Regions from separate parts of the Homo sapiens genome. Here regions 2, 3, 4, 5 and 6 are each linked to region 1. Evidence: promoter capture Hi-C in human tissues and cell types (Jung and others, 2019). All regions are on one chromosome and are shown on one strand. Each heading gives the region's core, a stretch centred on a gene start or on the middle of the fragment in contact. The rest is flanking DNA. Distances are from core to core; before and after follow the strand shown.

Evidence for each region. The method cuts DNA at HindIII sites, captures the fragments that hold promoters and counts their contacts. A contact is called where the count stands out against the background at its distance.
Region 2: a contact is called between a fragment that was not itself captured here and the fragment with the promoter of METAP1 in region 1, in 2 of the 25 tissues and cell types used here (IMR-90 fibroblasts and spleen).
Region 3: a contact is called between a fragment that was not itself captured here and the fragment with the promoter of METAP1 in region 1, in 2 of the 25 tissues and cell types used here (dorsolateral prefrontal cortex and hippocampus).
Region 4: a fragment that was not itself captured here is called in contact with the fragment with the promoter of METAP1 in region 1 in 1 of the 25 tissues and cell types used here (heart left ventricle).
Region 5: a fragment that was not itself captured here is called in contact with the fragment with the promoter of METAP1 in region 1 in 1 of the 25 tissues and cell types used here (bladder).
Region 6: a contact is called between a fragment that was not itself captured here and the fragment with the promoter of METAP1 in region 1, in 1 of the 25 tissues and cell types used here (aorta).

Annotation. Positions count from the first base shown.
Region 1 is chr4:98,993,852-98,996,977 of GRCh38, forward strand. It overlaps METAP1 (methionyl aminopeptidase 1), which reads left to right and starts at 1,870. Exons shown (of 11, transcript NM_015143.3): 1 at 1,870-2,016. The coding sequence starts at 1,903. RefSeq lists enhancers at 1,312-1,361, 2,283-3,065 and silencers at 1,602-1,921, 2,082-2,541. The HindIII fragment of the contact is 14,445 bases long and covers 1-3,126 here.
Region 2 is chr4:98,491,776-98,494,656 of GRCh38, forward strand. The region is part of intron 2 of TSPAN5 (tetraspanin 5); the gene reads right to left. Among named protein-coding and RNA genes, the nearest start is that of TSPAN5, 170 kb to the right of the region's middle. The HindIII fragment of the contact is 4,595 bases long and covers 1-2,881 here.
Region 3 is chr4:98,628,787-98,632,052 of GRCh38, forward strand. The region is part of intron 1 of TSPAN5 (tetraspanin 5); the gene reads right to left. Among named protein-coding and RNA genes, the nearest start is that of TSPAN5, 28 kb to the right of the region's middle. The HindIII fragment of the contact is 5,638 bases long and covers 1-3,266 here.
Region 4 is chr4:99,495,834-99,498,819 of GRCh38, forward strand. No RefSeq gene overlaps it. Among named protein-coding and RNA genes, the nearest start is that of C4orf17, 14 kb to the right of the region's middle. The HindIII fragment of the contact is 9,310 bases long and covers 1-2,986 here.
Region 5 is chr4:99,471,359-99,474,439 of GRCh38, forward strand. No RefSeq gene overlaps it. Among named protein-coding and RNA genes, the nearest start is that of ADH7, 38 kb to the left of the region's middle. The HindIII fragment of the contact is 6,213 bases long and covers 1-3,081 here.
Region 6 is chr4:98,679,893-98,682,741 of GRCh38, forward strand. No RefSeq gene overlaps it. Among named protein-coding and RNA genes, the nearest start is that of TSPAN5-DT, 22 kb to the left of the region's middle. RefSeq lists a cis regulatory region at 2,764-2,849. The HindIII fragment of the contact is 4,437 bases long and covers 1-2,849 here.

The sequences.
Region 1 (3,126 bases), core at 620-3,119:
CACCCGTGCCTCTGCCACCACACCTACCACAAGCTGAGGGAACCGTCTCTGGCCTCGGCCAGCCCAGAGAAGGGCTCCCACGGTGCAGCGGCGGCTGAAGGGCTCCTCAAGCACGGCCAGAATGGGAGCTGAGGCCAGGAGGCACCGAGAGCAAGCAAGGGCTGCGAGGGCTGCCAGCATGCTGTCACCTCGCTGTCACCTCTCACTGTGAGCACCACTGCACTCCAGCCTGGTTGACAGGATGAGATGCTGTCTCAAAGAAAAACCAAACGACAAACAAAAAGTTGACATCATAGTAACTGAAGAAATCAGGTAAGTAAATTACTTTATATGGTATGGTGCAGTTTTTATTTAAAAAATATTTTATACATACATACATACTTATTGATTTTTTTCTTGTATACAAAAGTATATGTATGTATGCATGTAAACATTTCTATTACTTGATTTTATTACATCATTTTTACTGCTTATATTGCAAAACTAAGTTTTTTTTTTTTTGAGACATGGTCTTGCTCTGCCGTTTGGGCTGGAGTGCAGTGGCAGGATCATAGCTTACCATATCCTTGACTTCTCAGGTTCAACAGATCCTCCCAGCTCAGCCTCCTCAGTAGCTGGGACTACAGGCGCCTGCCACCATGCCCGGCTAATTTTTTAGTTTTTAGTTTTAGTTTTTGTAGAGACGGGGTTTTGCCATATTTCCACCCTGGTCTCGAACTCCTGGCCTCAAAGAATCCGCTGGCCTTGGTGCCCTGGATGCCCTGGCCTCTCAAAGTGCTGGGATTGATTACAGGCGTCAGCCACCGCTCCTAGCCAAAACAAAGTTCTTAAAAATAAAAGTAGTATGAGCTTTTCTGGTGTATTAAGTACGGAGAAGTTAAAAAAATACAATAACAAAGTTCACAGCCTTTTGTGATCAGTAAATGTTAGTTTTTCGCTCTTCCCTAGTGACAAGGAGGCACTCAAGCATGAGTTACAACACAACCGACCTGGAATACAGCTGAAAAGATTGAAGCAACAGGTTCGCAGGGGAAGGCCTTTACAGCTTCTTTCGACTCTGACATTTCAGGATCAGCACAATTCTCCCCTATTTACTGCTGAAGCAATCAACTGGGATTATACAAAAAAATTATTTGTATTGAATACCTGACAGTTGTGTTACTATTACTAGCACTATCGGTTTTGAAGGGGAGGTGGTGGTGTGTGGAAAAAAAAAGTCTGGCAGGAGGGAGGGCAGATGTGAATCCCAGCCCACCGTCCCGTTGACAGCTCTATGGCTCTCCTTTCTGTGAATGAGCGGTGGTCCTTAGGCCTCAGACCCGACAATGTCAGTGAGAAACAGAACTTAACCCAAGGGACTGTTCTCCAAGGAGCGGCGGGGGAATCCAACGCAGAGGAGCGCAGCGCCCTCTCTAGCCTCCTGCGGGTGTCGGGGATGATCAGGGCTCCTGGGTGTTCGTCAGTGAAGACGACTGTCTTATCTGACTGTAGGCACAGAGAGTGCGCCGCGAGAGGGCGGCTCCTCACCGTCAGGCGCCGGCAGGTCGCGTTCTCTGCTGGCCGACGCCCGAAGGCGCCGAATGGGGGGGCCCTGCCGAGCTCCCTTACAGCCCCAATGTGCGCGCCGCCGGGAGGCTTGGGCACGCAGGCACCGCCGGCGGGGGGCGGGGCGAAGCCGGCGGGGCGGGGCACCAGCTGCGCGCGCGGGGCGGGGGCGGGGCCGGGGCGGGGCGCGCTGCGTGGTCCCGGCCGGCCCTGGCTCCTCCCCCTCCCGCGCCCAGGCCAGCGGCGGGCCCAGCTCCTCCCCCGACTCGGTCTCTCTCCCCTCCCCTCCGCCCGGCAGTTCCTCCCTCCCGCCGCCGCCTCTTCCTCGGTGAGGCGCTCTTCCAGCGGGCAGGCAGCATGGCGGCCGTGGAGACGCGGGTGTGCGAGACAGACGGCTGCAGCAGTGAGGCCAAGCTCCAGTGTCCCACTTGCATCAAGCTGGGCATCCAGGGCTCGTACTTCTGCTCGCAGGTAGGCGCCCGCTGCCCCGCGGATATGCCGCCGCTGCGGGACCCCTCCTCGCTTCTCCCCTGCTGGCTCCTCCCGCCCTTGCGGCGAGTCGGGACGCGCTCCTCCTCTTCCCCCCGGCCGCGTTTCCTCCTCCCCCCACCCGCGTCGCCACCGCCCCCTCCTGCCTCCTGGGGTCCCTGGGTCCTCGGGAACCGCGCTGGGCTCACGCGGGGGCGGGGGCGCCACCCGCCGCGGCCATGTGGGCTGGGGCGGAAGCGGGCTGTGCGGGGTCGCGTGGCCGCGCTAGACCTCCGCGTTCTGGGGCCGGTTCCCCGCGCTGGGGCGGGGGCCGCCAGGTGTGCGGGCTGCCGGAGGCAGGTAGCGGCGCCGGGAAGGAGGGCAGCCCGAGCGTCGCGAGCCTCCACATCCGCAGCACCGGCGGGGCTCGGGTCTGGGCGCTGGAGGCGCCGGGCCGTCCGTCGGGTCCCTGCGGGGTGGGGGGCTGAAGCTACCTGCCGGGCTCTGAGAGATGGGTGGCCCGAGGACCGTCGGAGTCGCAGAGAGGAGGAACGCTAGCTAGCTCCAGCCCCACTTCTTTGTGCTTTACTACCGTGCTTTGACACTTAAGCAACTTTGGGGGTGGGGAAGGGAGAGGTCTGTGTAATTCATTCTTTTCTTTCGGTATATAAAATTATTAATTTACAAAACTGTAAGCTAACGGGATGAGTCACCTGTGACTGAATTTCCCAGAGTGAAAAGGACAGTTCCATTGAGGGTTAGGCGTGAATGCTGTAGTGTATTTTAAGTTTTGTGCAGTAGAGCAAACCCAGCGTTGAATGGGGTCCAGACTGAAGCGTGTGCTCGTGTTTCTGTTTACTGAAGAGTACTAGTGTTGCTGCTGCATTTCGAGACCCAGGATGAGGGCTGGGCGGCAATAGTATGGCTCTTAGTTACAGTCCAGGTTTAGTGAAGAGAGGCACATGAATATTCAAATATTAAATTGGTAGCGTCCTGTGGGGAGGAGAGCCGGAATAAAGAGAAGGCCTGATTGGGGCCCTGCCCTTGCCAGTTATTGTGCGATCTTGAATTAGTAAAGTTACTTAATCTTTCTGAGTTCCAGTGTTACACTGT
Region 2 (2,881 bases), core at 73-2,572, 500 kb before region 1:
GTTGTCCTAAAGATGGGGTCTCTTTCTGGACTTTTTAATTTCATTCAGCTCAATTTGACAGATGAGTAAGAAGTGCTAGTATATGCCTGCTGAAGAGTAATTATAATTAAACCTTGTAGTTGACAAGAAGCTGTAAGAAAAAAAATCTAAGATTACAGTTAAGTCTGCCAAGCAATTTAAAACAGGCACCAGATTCACAGTAAATCCTTAGGAATGTGCAAGAACACCACCAGCAGACACCTAGTCTTCTGGGAACCTGAGGCCCCCGCCTCTTCTGGGAACAGCACCACCTCCTCCTTGTAAGGATGCCTTCGCCCCTCCTTTCACTCCATGACCCCTCAGAGCTGCCAAGATCTCATACAATCCTGCTGGCCTGGTGAGGGCTGAGAAGCCTGGATTCCCTTCCTAAAGTGCCAGGATTTAGAACAGGCACCTTTCTCTAGTGGCTGAGACTCTAAAATGCCAAACTCCAGAGCCTTGTGAAGCATGTCATATTTCCTACCAAGTGGAGAAAGTCAGACAGCAGTGAGAAGCAGAAAACCGCGCTCAAGAAGAAACAAAGAACAAGAGTAGGGAGGGAAAATCCAGACAGCATTATAAATCCCCAGTCCAGTGGTTCCTGAGGCCTGCCCTAGAGCTCTATGTGTCACTCCAGGAGCCTTAGATACACTCCCTTGATTGCTTATGCTGGTTCTCTTTGGGTCTTCATTTGCATCTGCGAAGTCCTGCACAACACAAAAGCTTTGAATACACTATGCTTCAGTCCTCCATGCACGTAAACGCACACACAGACATGCACATAGACACACAGACACACGCACGTGGTCGAAGCTGGGAAAAAATGTGGGTATAGGGAGCAAAGGGATGTGCCAGGTTTTAAATGGTCATTTTCCCCAGCTGGCTGATATTTCAAGTCAACGTAGTAATTAAGCCGGTGTAAACAGTCTCATTCATGTTAACTCACTATGAATTCAGCATCATCAATGAAATGAGCAGTTCTGTGGAACTCTTATGGAACTTTTAGGTGATTTGTCTATGTTACTGACAAATAATGCATAACATGGTTTAACCTCCAATTCTGCATGTAAACTTGAATGTTCAGCCCTTGAGTTTAAATACCAACTTTTAAAACCTCAAACACGGAAAAAAATCAATACATTGGGAGGCCGAGGTAGGGGGATTGCCTGAAGCCAGAAGTTGAGACCAGCCTGGGCAATAAAACAAGACCCCATCTCTAGAAAAAATTTAAACATAAGTCAGGTACACTGGTGTGTGCCTGTAGTCCTAGCTACTTGGGAGGCTGAGGCAGAAAGATCACTTGAGCCCACGAGTTGGAGGCTGCAGTGAGCCATGATCACATCACTGCACTCCAGCCTGGGCAACAGAGTGAAATCACATCTCAAAAAGTAATAAAACATAAATAAGTAAATAAATACAAAATGTTATTTGACTACTCTCTTCTGTACCTGTTTATGCCAGAAGTGCACACACAGAGCTTGGCATCTATATTCCATAGGAAGTTCTCATCCTTCTCCTACCTGAATCCTACAAGCATAGCAAGCCCTGGGGGCTAAAGATGTCAAGGGTACTAGACTTCGCAGATAACATCAGAAAATATCCCATGAAGCTGAACCTAACTGGAACAAGGATAAATGAGTGAGAAGCAGAGTAACGGGCCACACACAGTTATTTCCATCCGTTTTAGTTGACATATGAAAGTGAGATTCTGAACAGTAGTAGCAGAAACAGAAAGATTCAGAATGAGAGAGAGCCAGAGACCAAGACTGCAGGTGATGAGAAAAATATATTCAAGATGATCGATTCAGAATGCTATGTGGGAAGAATTCCTCTACATATATCTTATTAATACATTAAAATTTTATTAGTAAGAACTGATATAAATGAATATATTCATAAGAATTCTTCGTATGCAGACTATATGCTATGTCAATATTCTTCTTAGGATCCTTAATCTTCTCTTCTCCTGCCTCTGAGGTCTACAGCTGTTGTTGCAGCAGGCAGCAGAGGCAAAAAACAAATTGACCATAACATAAAGTGCTGCTATAAAGACAAAATGAATAGCAGTCAATTTAAAAAGTTGAAAGAAAAAAATATATTCAACAAATTGGCCATTCTGCAAATTAGCTTTTGGACAACTAACTCTGGCATATCCACTTGAAGCCTTTAAGAGATGATTCTGCAATAGGAGATTTCCATTATCCACTAGGTACCAGACAGCATCTCTCATAACTTAGCAAAGAGACCAGTATATGTCTAAGAAGAAATAAGACACATTAGTGGTCCATGTCTGAGGCAATAGGATTGTAACAGAAGTTTAGAGAGCCAACAAGCAACAATGTATCCATTTGCACCCATCGTGGTACAAGGGAGACTCTGATATTCCAGCCACTTAGACTAGCCTGCTCTAGAGTGGGGCAGAGAGAGCATTCCAGAATCAACCTCCTCCTGAACAAACCATCCTGAACTGTACTTAAGCCAATGAGGCTCACCTCCAATATCCCCTGGGATCCAAGTAAATCCAAAACTCAGAAAGTGGGGTAGCCTGGACAATGGGGGAGACAGACAAACAGACAGACACTAATACAGACTAGCTTGTCTTGAATCCCAATGCTAAGCCAAATTGAGGCTTAGGCAGATGAAGTAACCTGCCTAAGATCGCACTTACTACCTGTGTCATCTTAGGCAGATTACCTCATCTGCCTAAGCCTCAATTTCTGTATCTGTGAAAATGGTACTCTATGTCCTAAGGTTATTATGAGGATGATGGAAACAATCCAAGTAAATCCAAACACGATGTGAAGTGCTTCGAATATAATAAGAATTAAATAAAAGTATATTGCCATAATCACTGTTATCACTA
Region 3 (3,266 bases), core at 89-2,588, 370 kb before region 1:
ACTTGCTGATATATCAAAACTGAGCTGTATCATACATTGTCCTATGATACATTGTACATTGCAGAGAGAAGGCATGCTAAGTTAATATTATGGATAAATTACTTTAAGATTTCTCTAAATGACATTCTCACAAGCATCCCTGGCAAAAGGCAACATCTATAATCTTTAACTGAAAACACTTTGCTTTGGAAATGGGAATGCTTTGAATGTACCTTAGCTTATCAAAGCATAAATTTACTTGTTTTTAAATGAGTTCAAAACTAGCCATCATAGTTATTTATGTATATGTTACTGCAATTAAATAAAAAGGAAAAAATGCTTATAAACACACACATATTATCCTGAAACAGAAACAATAAGCATAATTACTCTAAAGTGGCAAAGAATGGATAATTTGTCTATGAACTATTTCACAGTCTTTGAGTTGTACTGTGTATTACACATAACCAGAATATCTTCAGTCTCAAAAAGACTATTTCTGAGCACACAACCAAGATTGCAGGCAAGTCACACAACCCCTCTGTGCCTCGATGTCCTCATCAGAATAATGTGAAAAATAATAGTGCAGACATCTTAAAGGGTTACTGGGAGGATTAAATGAGCTGATACATACAAACAGCACTTATAACACTGCCTACCACTATTGCCCAACCTTGTATCAATCGACACACTAGCCTAAAATGCTGATAAATTACGTTCTCCTAATGCAAACATTCTCATCTCTGCTCTGGTTTGCAGAATGAAGCAGTCTCCTGGTCTTTTATCCAAAGCACACTCCAGTATTATTAATTTAAGTTGCTGCTAAATCTCAAAAGTCATTAATAAAATGTAGTGATTTCTCAAATGGTTTATGGTCAGCCACTCTAAGAGGTACTTAATAGAAAAGAATTAGCTCAAAGCTGGTATCCAGATGATTTATCAAAACAACTATCAGGTTTAAAGAAAATCCCCAGGGCAGTAAAAACCCAGCATTCAAAAAACACCAATGAAGAAAAAGACTGTTGCTATTCACAAAGGTACAGACTGTTAGTGAGTGAATAAATGGAAGAATAAATGAATGAAGATCAAATGGGTTATTTGCTGCTGACCACAAACTTATGCTTCCCTTTCAAAAAAAAGTATTTTTAATCAGATCCTCTGCTTATATTTGTGTCATTGTTAAACTGTCTTGTCATACTTACATAACCAGGTAATAATAATCTATGAAAATACTCGACTAACCAACCCAAACGCTTTCCCTAAATCTTAACATATGCACTGACTGCATTTGGTGTGGTCAGAGATGGGCCCTGTCCTGAATTCACGCTCGAGTTGGGGAACAAAACTAACCAACAAGGATTAAGTGGTAACCTCTGAGTATCTACTAAACAGCATCAGAGTTCCTGGAGGGTTATGCCCAGGGTAGGCTGCAAGGGTGCTCAAAGTGAACAAGAACAGGACAAAGGCAAAGCAGAGGAGGCACCAAACGAAAAGCACTGCAGCTGTTCCAGCCATGAGGCCTGATGGAGAAAACAACATGGCACATGTTCTGCTCAGCAAATCCCTACCCGCCTCCAATACATACAGCAGCACCACCTCCTCTAAAACATTCCCTCATTACCTGATCTTTAGACTTATACACCACTTCTCGTTTATGTGTGTATTTATTTATATGTTTTTCCTCCATTGGACTGAGAGCTCTCAAAGCACAAGAATCACCTTAATCCATCTTGTATTGTCATCCGAGGCACGCATATTCCCTAAACATCCCTGGATTGAATGAAGATGACTTAGCAAAGGGAGGGATTCTCTCAACCCGGGAGACTGTGCACATAACTAGAAAGGGAGGGGCCCACGGAATCCAACGCCAAGCTTCCTGTGCATTGGTGCTACCCAGGAGAAAGGAGTGCCCCTGTCCTCAAGAAACTTAAGTCCACTTAGATCACAAAAAGTTCTCTGAGAAAGTATGTGAAGGGCTCTATTTAGACAGCTATTTATTACTCTGAATTTGAAGCCCTCCTCCCCTTGAAGTAAGGCCTACTGGCTTAAGGGCCCTGCAGAGCTAAAGATGTGAGGATAACTTGCCACTGGTGCTTAGCACAAATAGCGAATGAGAGTTCACTGGGAAGTACAAACGAAGGGAATCAACTTACTCATAAATCTCAACACCCTTTCTTTTGCTCACTGGCTGAGAAACTGCCATCTGGAAGGCTCAGCAGATAGATGAAAGGCATTATCACAGTTCTACTGGAATATTTCTGCTTGGCAAAGAACACAAGATGCCAGAACTTGAAAAAAATCATGTAATTCTGATGACCTCATTTCACCTTTCTTTTCAGCCAATCCAAATTCAGCCTGTTGTAGATATTTAACAATTAGAGAAACCTTGCAATTACTTTGCTGAATCGCTCGACTGGCAAAACGTCCACAAGGCCTGCGCATCTCCTACATTCTAATGCTCTGGTAGCTCTGAGACCCACGGCAAGCAAGGAGAGCACCCCCTACAGACAACATTCACACTGAGAAGTGGCAAGAAAGTGAGGAAGACAATTCCAGGTCCCTGAGTCCACCACCAGACTCTCATCAAGTTCACCCCAATATCTGGGAAGCATATAGCCTTCACTGCACATGTTCCATCCCTGACTCCGGGTGGGTGCACCTGTACCTGTGAAACAAACACACCCACACACAGGCAAACATAGCACTCGATCTTTTTTTTTTGGCATTTGCTATGTCATCTGGTATCCCTCCAGACTGCCTGGGCCTCCACGAGTCTTAGATGCCTGACCCTGCAGGGCCAACATGAAGGGAGCCACCACTTCAAGGTCCCATCCAACTGCTGCTAGGAAGCCAGGCCTGAGAGGGGCTCTTTAGTGTTGTTCTGTTTTAAGACCTCAGGCTATAGGATCTGATAAAAATTATCTTCAGACTAGTGGTGTCATAAAAACCCCTTTTCCCCTGAAGGGACCCAGCAATTTGAAAGTGCCTTGCAAAGCATGTTCTCCTGGATTCTTCAGAGCCTTTCCTGAGGCAGACGAGCATCTGCTCCAAGTCAGACAGGAGGAAACTTTGTCTCTGGGGACTCGGCCATAATAGGCCTTAGAAACCAAGATCTTAGGCCACTTTTTAGTTTTTCACTGTTAGTAATTCAACAAGATTCCCCTGGCACCGTGCACACTACCTTCTTTGAGTCTTTACATCAGTAGAGAAATGGATGCACAGATCATCTGTGTGCCTCTCACTGAGCCCCCGCTAAACACACGACTAAAACCAGCTCTCCCCTAGAA
Region 4 (2,986 bases), core at 102-2,601, 500 kb after region 1:
ATGAACATTGATGCAAAAATCCTCAATAAAATACCGGCAAACTGAATCCAGCAGCACATCCAAAAGCTTATCCACCATGATCAAGTGGGCTTCATCCCTGGGATGCAAGGCTGGTTCAACATACACAAATCAATACATGTAATCCAGCATATAAACAGAACCAAAGACAAAAAGCACATGATTATCTCAATACATGCAGAAAAGGCCTTTGACAAAATTCAACAACCCTTCATTCTAAAAACTCTCAATAAATTAGGTATTGATGGGACGTATCTCAAAATAATAAGAGCTATTTATGACAAACCCACAGCCAATATCATACTGAATGGACAAAAACTGGAAGCATTCCCTTTGAAAACTGGCACAAGACAGGGATGCCCTCTCTCACCACTCCTATTCAACATAGTGTTGGAAGTTCTGGCCAGGGCAATTAGGCAGGAGAAGGAAATAAAGGGCATTCAGTTAGTAAAAGAGGAAGTCAAATTGTCCCTGTTTGCAGATGACATGATTGCATATCTAGAAAACCCCATCGTCTCAGCCCAAAATCTCCTTAAGCTGATAAGCAACTTCAGCAAAGTCTCAGTATACAAATCAATGTGCAAAAATCACAAGCATTCTTATACACCAATAACAGACAAACAGAGAGCCAAATCATGAGTGAACTCCCATTCACAATTGCTTCCAAGAGAATAAAATACCTAGGAATGCAACTTACAAGGGATATGAAGGACCTCTTCAAGGAGAACTACAAACCACTGCTCAAGGAAATAAAAGAGGATACAAACAAATGGAAGAACATTCCATGCTCATGGATAGGAAGAATCAATATCGTGAGAATGGCCATACTGCCCAAGGTAATTTATAGATTCAATGCCATCCCCATCAAGCTACTAATGACTTTCTTCACAGAATTGGAAAAAGCTACTTTCAAGTTCATATGGAACCAAAAAAGAGCCCGCATGGCCAATTCAATCCTAAGCCAAAAGAACAAACCTGGAGGCATCACACTACCTGACTTCAAACTATACTACAAGGCTACAGTAACCAAAACAGGATGGTACTGGTACCAAAACAGAGATATAGATCAATGGAACAGAACAGAGCCCTCAGAAATAATGCTGCATATTTACAACCATCTGATCTTTGACAAACCTGACAAAAACAAGCAATGGGGAAAGGATTCCCTATTTAACAAATGGTGCTGGGAAAACTGGCTAGCTATATGTAGAAAGCTGAAACTGGATACCTTCCTTACATCTTATACAAAAATTAATTCAAGATGGATTAAAGACTTAAATGTTAGACCTAAAACCATAAAAACCCTAGAAGAAAACCTAGGCAACACCATTCAGGACATAGGCATGGGCAAGAACTTCACGTCTAAAACACCAAAATCAATGGCAACAATAGCCAAAATTGACAAATGGGATCTAATTAAACTAAAGAGCTTCCGCACAGCTAAAGAAACCACCATCAGAGTGAACAGGCTACCTACAGAATGGGAGAAAATTTTCGCAACCTACTCATCTGACAAAGGGCTAATATCCAGAATCTACAATGAACTCCAACAAATTTACAAGAGAAAAACAAACAACCCCACCAAAAAGTGGGTGAAGGATATGAACAGACACTTCTCAAAAGAAGACATTTAGGCAGCCAAAAAACACATGAAAAAATGCTCATCATCACTGGCCATCAGAGAAATGCAAATCAAAGTCACAAGGAGATACCATCTCACACCAGTTAGAATGGCGATCATTAAAAAGTCAGGAAACAACAGGTGCTGGAGAGGATATGGAGAAATAGGAACACTTTTACACTGTTGGTGGGACTGTAAACTAGTTCAACCATTGTGGAAGTTGGTGTGGTGATTCCTCAGGGATCTAGAACTAGAAATACCATTTGACCCCGCCATCCCATTACTGGGATTTATATACCCAAAGGATTATAAATCATGCTGCTATAAAGACACATGCACACGTATGTTTATTGCAGCACTATTCACAATAGCAAAGACCTGGAACCAACCCAAATGTCCAACAATGATAGACTGGATTAAGAAAATGTGGCACATATACACCATGGAATACTATGCAGCCATAGAAAATGATGAGTTCATGTCCTTTGTAGGGACATGGATGAAGCTGGAAACAATCATTCTCAGCAAACAATCGCAAGGACAAAAAACCAAACACCACATGTTCTCACTCATAGGTGGGAATTGAACAATGAGAACACATGGACACAGGAAGGGGAACATCACACACCGGGGATTGTTGTGGGGTGGGGGGAGGGGGAGGGATAGCATCAGGAGATATACCTAATGCTAAGTGACGAGTTAATGGGTGCAGCACACCAACATGGCACATGTATACCTATGTAAGAAACCTGCATGTTGTGCACATGTACCTTAAAACTTAAAGTAGAATTAAAAAAAAAAAAAAAAAGAACGCCTTTAAGCGGTTTTCCGCCCTCGGTGGGCCAGGTGTTCCTTTCCCTCATTCCAGTGAACCCACAGCCTTCCAGCGTGGGCGCCATGGCCATCATGAACATGTCACAGTGCTACAGAGATTTTGTTTATGGCCAGTTTTGGAGGCAGTTTATGGCCAGATTTTGGGGGCTTATTCCCAACAAGTTCAGCCATGGAACCAAAGGTATTATTTAAGTGGAAAGTTTTAAGAGGCCTTTCTGTAAGTTTTCACGGTGCTGGGGTATAGGTGCCTCATGGTCCAGCCTAGTCCTCAGATATGCAGTACCCACTGTGTCTCTACTCGAATCTCATGATTCTTGAGATGGACAACTCAGCTCCTCAATAGAAATGGGTATGTTTGGTTCCCACACCACAAGTGCCTTGCATTTAATAACTGGAAGGCATCAAAAGAAAATGAATGGTATTATCATGTGGGTTCATGTTAGTTTATGGGTAGGCTGATTAAACTACAGCAAGCTCCTATGATAAAATACATTATATTCACACAGATTTTAC
Region 5 (3,081 bases), core at 195-2,694, 480 kb after region 1:
ACAAGGAAGCCTGACTTGTAACATTATGTGTTTGTTCCTTCCTTTCATTTTGTGAAAATTTATAAAACCATTAAACCTAGAATGGGGGAAAAGAAGGCAACCATAAAAGCTGAAAAATGGCAGTCTTGGGCATACATCTCTTCCTCCTACCCCCCTTTCTTTTGTGCCTTGAGCTTTTTAAACAGGATGGCCTGAAGGAGGCATCACAGAGATGAGCTTGGTTTACTTCTTGTATACATTAAATGCAAGAGCCTATGATGGAGGCTTTAAAAGACTGTGATGGAAAAAAGCCAATCTAAATCCTTACCTTTGCATTATTTATTCCTGCCCTCTTCCTGCAAGTAATCCACAGCCTATCAAACATACTTTTTCTAGTGGAGCATCAGGATCAATTTTGACAAATGCACTTTCTCTTAACACTGTGTATTCAGTGAAGGTGCTTGTGTTAGGGAGTTGGTAGATTGGTTTTCTTTTACAGGTAAATCTGGTGGTGTCATCAGCCATGGTTTCACAAATACCATCAAAGCTTAGTAAAGCAAACCATAAAAGCACATATGAGAGATGAATGGAGGTATAGGATGAAATTTTAGTAATTAAAGAGACCTACTTGAATTGATTGCATATATTTCCTTTAGGGATCAAACAAGGGTCAGATTTTCCATACTGAAGGATGACTTTGTCTCCTGGAGAGAACAATGCAATCATTCATCAAAAAGTCTCTCTGGAATGTTGAAAGGATAAATATATACAAAAGACTACGGTGTATTTCAATTAAAACCTCTCACAACACATGCCCAAGCTTACTTTTAACAAAGTTAGATATCCTTTATCTTCTTGATTAAATTTATCAAAGAACTGGGTTTTGAGCCATGTACTTACTATTTCCTAGCTGTAGTAAGACACTTGATTGTTCTGTCAGTATTATCTAAAATGTCCAATTTCTCAAAAATTACAAGACATGCAAAAAAATAAAACCAGAAATTATGACCCATACACTGGAAAAAAAAGCAGGCAAAAGAAATTGCCTGTGAGAACAACCAGACATTGAATTTAACACACAAAGCCTTCAAAGTAGACATTATAAATATGATCAAAGAACTAAAGAAAACTATAATTAAATAAAGGAAGGTGGCTTAGTCTGTGCTGCTATAACAGAATGCCTGAGACTGGGTAATTTATAAAGAACAAAAATTTATTTCTCACAGTTCTGGAGGCTGGGAAGTTCAAAATCAAGATATGGGCATCTAATGTGGGCCTTTTTATTGCATTCTCACATGACAGAGTGTGGAAGGATAAGAGAGAATAAACCCACTTTTGCAAGCCCTTTTCATAGCAACATTAATTTATTCATGAGGGCGCCACCCTCATGACCTAATCACCTCCCAAAAGTTCTCACCTCCCAACACTGTAACATTGGGAATTAGGTTTCCAACACATGAATTTTGAAAAGGACACATTCAAACCATAGCATTTGACCTCTGGTCCCCTAAAATTCATGTCCTTCTCACGTACAAAATACATGCACTCCACCCTAATAGCCCCCGAAGTCTTAACTAGCTCCAGTGTTAAATTTTCTTCTACTGTGAGCCTGTGAGCAAACCAGCTATGCACTTCCAGAACACAATGGTGGGACAGCTACAGGAAGGACATTCCCATCCCAAAAAGGAGAAACAGTGAAAAAAAGAAAAGCAACAAGTCCCAAGTAGGTCCAAAACCCAACAAAGCAAACAACGTCAGGTCTTAAGACTTGAGAATAATCTTCTTTTACTCCATGTCCTATCTTCTAGACACACTGGGGTGAGGGTTGGGCCCCAAAGGCTTCAGGCAGCCCTGCACCTATGGCTTTGCTGGGAACAGTTCATGCTTCAGCTCTCATTCATTGAAGTCACATACCTGAGGCTTTTTCAGGCTGATGATGCATGCTGGTGGCTCTACAGTTCTGGCATCTTGGAAGCAGCCCCATTCCCACAGCTCCACTAGGCATTGTCCTAGTGGGGATTCTCTGTGGTTGCCCTGACATCACAGTTTTGCTTGACATTGTCCTAGTGGGGACTATTTTCATCATCCTTTGAAACTGGCTACACACCCACTAGCATGTGGCAAGAATCAAAAAATGAGGATGTAGCAAAATAAGAGCTCTCCTACGCTGCTGGCAGGAGTGTAAAACAGTATGGCAGTACTCAAACTACAAAACACAGAGTTACCCAGGAAAAATGGTAATGTATGTCCACACAGAATCTTGTATGTGAATATTCATAGAAGCATTATTTACAACAGCCAAAATGTAAAAAAAAAAAAAAAAAAAATCCAAATCCTCATCAATTCATGATTGGATAAATAAAATGTGGTATCCACTGGAAAATTATTCAGCCATAAAAAGAAATGAAATACTGATACATGTTATAGCATGAATGAACCTTCATGCTAAGTGAAAGAAGCCGGACAGACACCAAAGACTACATATCATATGATTCAATGTATGCAAAATGTTTAGAATAGGCAAATCTACAGAGACAAAATAGGAGATTGCACATTTCTTAGGGCTTGGTCAGTGGAGGAGGAATGGGGGTAGCTAAAGAGTACAGAGTTTGTATTTAAGGTGACAAAAACGTTCTATAGCTGACTATGGTGATGGTTGCACATATTTGCAGATATACTAAAAACCATTGAATTGTCCACTTTAAATGCGTGAATTGTGTGGTGTGTGAAATACACATCAATAGAGTTCTTAATGCATTCAGTAAGTTAGTGGTAAAGACAGAAAGCATTTAACAGCTATCTCTCATTGGCACTTGGCAATTTTATACATTAGCCATAGTAGCTCATGAAATATTTTTTTCCCTAAGAAGAGAACTAGGAGAACTCTCTTATTGTTTATTAAGATTCCTGAGAGGGAAAAGATTTCTGTTACAATATTTACATCTTGATGATAACTGAGGAAACCGCTCAAGAGGTGAAATCTAGTTTTGAAACACAACACTGGGGACATTGGAGATGATGGGCCTGGGAAGAACTGGAGGTAGAGAGGCCGTTAAGCGGCCCCCACCTCAGATCTCACCCAGTAGTCTTGTTACCTTCTGA
Region 6 (2,849 bases), core at 189-2,688, 310 kb before region 1:
AAGAAGAATTTAGCTTCCATCCACACAATGTGGGCACAACCTACAGGCCGCTGACCAGGGAACATGGAGAACCAGATTAAAGGGCTGGAAAACTACAGGATCATGCAAATAGAAAGGGAAGCTTCCTCTGATAACAAACAAGCAGCAATAGGCATTCTTGCAGAGTTTATTGAAGGAAAACAATGTCTCCTTTGCAATAAAATCGATATAGGCTATTATTTTGAGCAAACTCAAAGACAGAATTTCTGCAGAGAAATTAGGGTGAAAAATGAAAGAAAATGACATTCCTGAAAATACTGCCTTAGGACAAGGCTCTTGAGGAAGATCATCAGCAGAACTTAGGTAAAGTCCAAAGCAGGGGAATCAGGCTCAGACTTCACACTCCAAGCATGCATTCATTTATTCACTCATTCATTCTTTCAGTAATTTATGTGTTGACGTAGCAAATATTTATTGAGCAGCAAATATATGCTAGACACTAAGCAAATATTGGAGGTTAAATTACCTTAGTGAAAAAGACAAGAAAAGTGTGCTTTCATGGATTGTATAATAGCAGCAAAGCTAGGCCTTAAAACAATAAAAAAAATTATTTAAGTTCAAATTGATAAGTACTAACAACAAAGAAGTTTTGAAATCTGTGAGAGTGAGTGACAGGAGAACCTAACCTAATCAGGGGATCAGATAATTCATTTGGGGGTTTCTAAGAGATTTGAAATTTTTAATGAACTTTTAAAGGTGAAAGATATTTACCTAAGGTAATCATTTTTACCAATTCCTTACTGGGGACAGAAATGGAAACTTAACTATTTGTAGTTTACTGAATACACAATATACATATATTTTCTATAGAGTTAAATATTAACTATAGGTTTTATACCATTGTATGAATTCCAGCAAACACATTCTATTATTTCTATAAAGACCTAAATTATTCTTTTGAATAGATACTTAGGCTGAGAGGAAACTTCCCATCTATTTAGTAAAGAGTATGGTATTTAACATCACTTTCTTCTGTCTAGTTATTCTAACAATGCCAAACCATAACCATTTAGTATAGGCATTTCAAGATAATACATCAATTCAAAACAAGTATTCATTGAGTGTGTGTTGTGTGATAAGCTGTGTTTTTGCAGCTGAGATAACAGTGGTGAGGAAAACAGACAAGGTCCCTGACTTTCTGGAATTTACATCTTAAAATGAACTTAAATTGTTTCTAATGTTTTAATTGACATTTCCAATAGCAATGGGAATGACCACTTTACTGCATATTGTATTCTCATCAATAGTGAGTACTATCATTACTTGCTTTTATAGAAGGAAAGTACAAAAAAAATGAAGGCATTGTTATGGGTTGAATTGTGTCCCCCCAAAAAAGATATGTTGAAGTCTCAAGCCCTAGTACCTCAGAAATGTGACCTTATTTGGAAACAGGGCTTGTGCAGATGTAGACAAGTTAAGATGAAATCATTAAAGTGGTCCCGACTCCAGTTGACTGTTCTCCCTGTGAATGCCATGTGAAGAGAAGGCAGAGATCGGGGTCATGCAACTATAAGCTAAGCAACACCGATTGCCAGCAACCACCAGAAGCTAGGAGAGAGGCACTGAACAGATTCTCCCTCATGTCCTCAGAAGGAACCAGCCCTGCCAACTCCTTGATCTCCGACTTCTGCCCTCCAGACAGAGACAATACACTTGTAGGTTAAGCCACCCAGTTTGTGGTACTTTGTTGTGTTAGCCCTATTAAACCAATACAGGTATGTTTCTTAAGTTGGGTTCCACTGGAAGCAGAGATTTACAAATGACTTGGGTGGTAATTGATGTTTGACACGTGCTCAGATATAAATCTCACTCTCGAAAGTATCATGATGTTTTGTTTGTTTTCTCTTATTTTCCCTGTGGTTTTAGACATTAAAGATAATGAAGCAGGCGGTGGCATGTCTGTAATCCCAGTACTTTGATAAGCCAAGGTGAGAGGATTGCTTGAGGTCAGGAGTTTGAGACCAGCCTGGGCAACATAGTGAGACCCCTTCTGTACAAAAAATTAAAAAAAAAATAGCCCGCCATGGTGGCATGTGCCTGTAGCCCTACCTACACTGGAGGCTGAGGCAGGGGGATCTCGTTAAGTCCAAGAATTCAAGGCCATAGTGAGCTGGGATCTTGCAATTGCATTCTAGCCTGGGTGGCAGACAGAGACCCTGTCTCTAATTTAAAACAAAGAAAGATAACCGAGCAAACCAGAGACTGCCAATGGGCAATGAAGGCCTTTACCATGAATTGACAAATTTGGGTAATCAGTGATTAGAATTGGATGCAGGAGGAGAGGATCTAGCTTTTGGGAGGCTTGAAGTTTATTTAATCTTCTCTTTAAGAAAAAGAGTATAAAATTATAAATATAAAATTAGATACAAAAGTAAATATTTATTTAGAATAAAAAGAAATAAAAAATAAATTACAAACATTAGAAAGATGATAAATACTATGAATACCCATACATCTAGAACCCAATTTTTTTTTAATTCTCTGACAGCTTTTTATAATATATTTTTCTGCATATTTTGGCTGCATATTCTTTGATCACCTCTTTAACATCAATTTTGTAACACAGCTTTCTAAAGATAGAAAACAGCCTTCCTCTAGCATGGTTGGTCTAAATTTGTGTTTTATTATTGATAGATGGGATGCATAAAACATGCAACCTCACACATAGATGTGTTCACTGCTACAGGATTATGCATCAGAAACCCAAGAATTCTGATAAAATCTACTTTAGATGATTTTCATGAAAATGTATTTTGGGTTTATAATTATGTATAATGTACATTCCTAAACAGGAGAGAATTTCTGTCTTG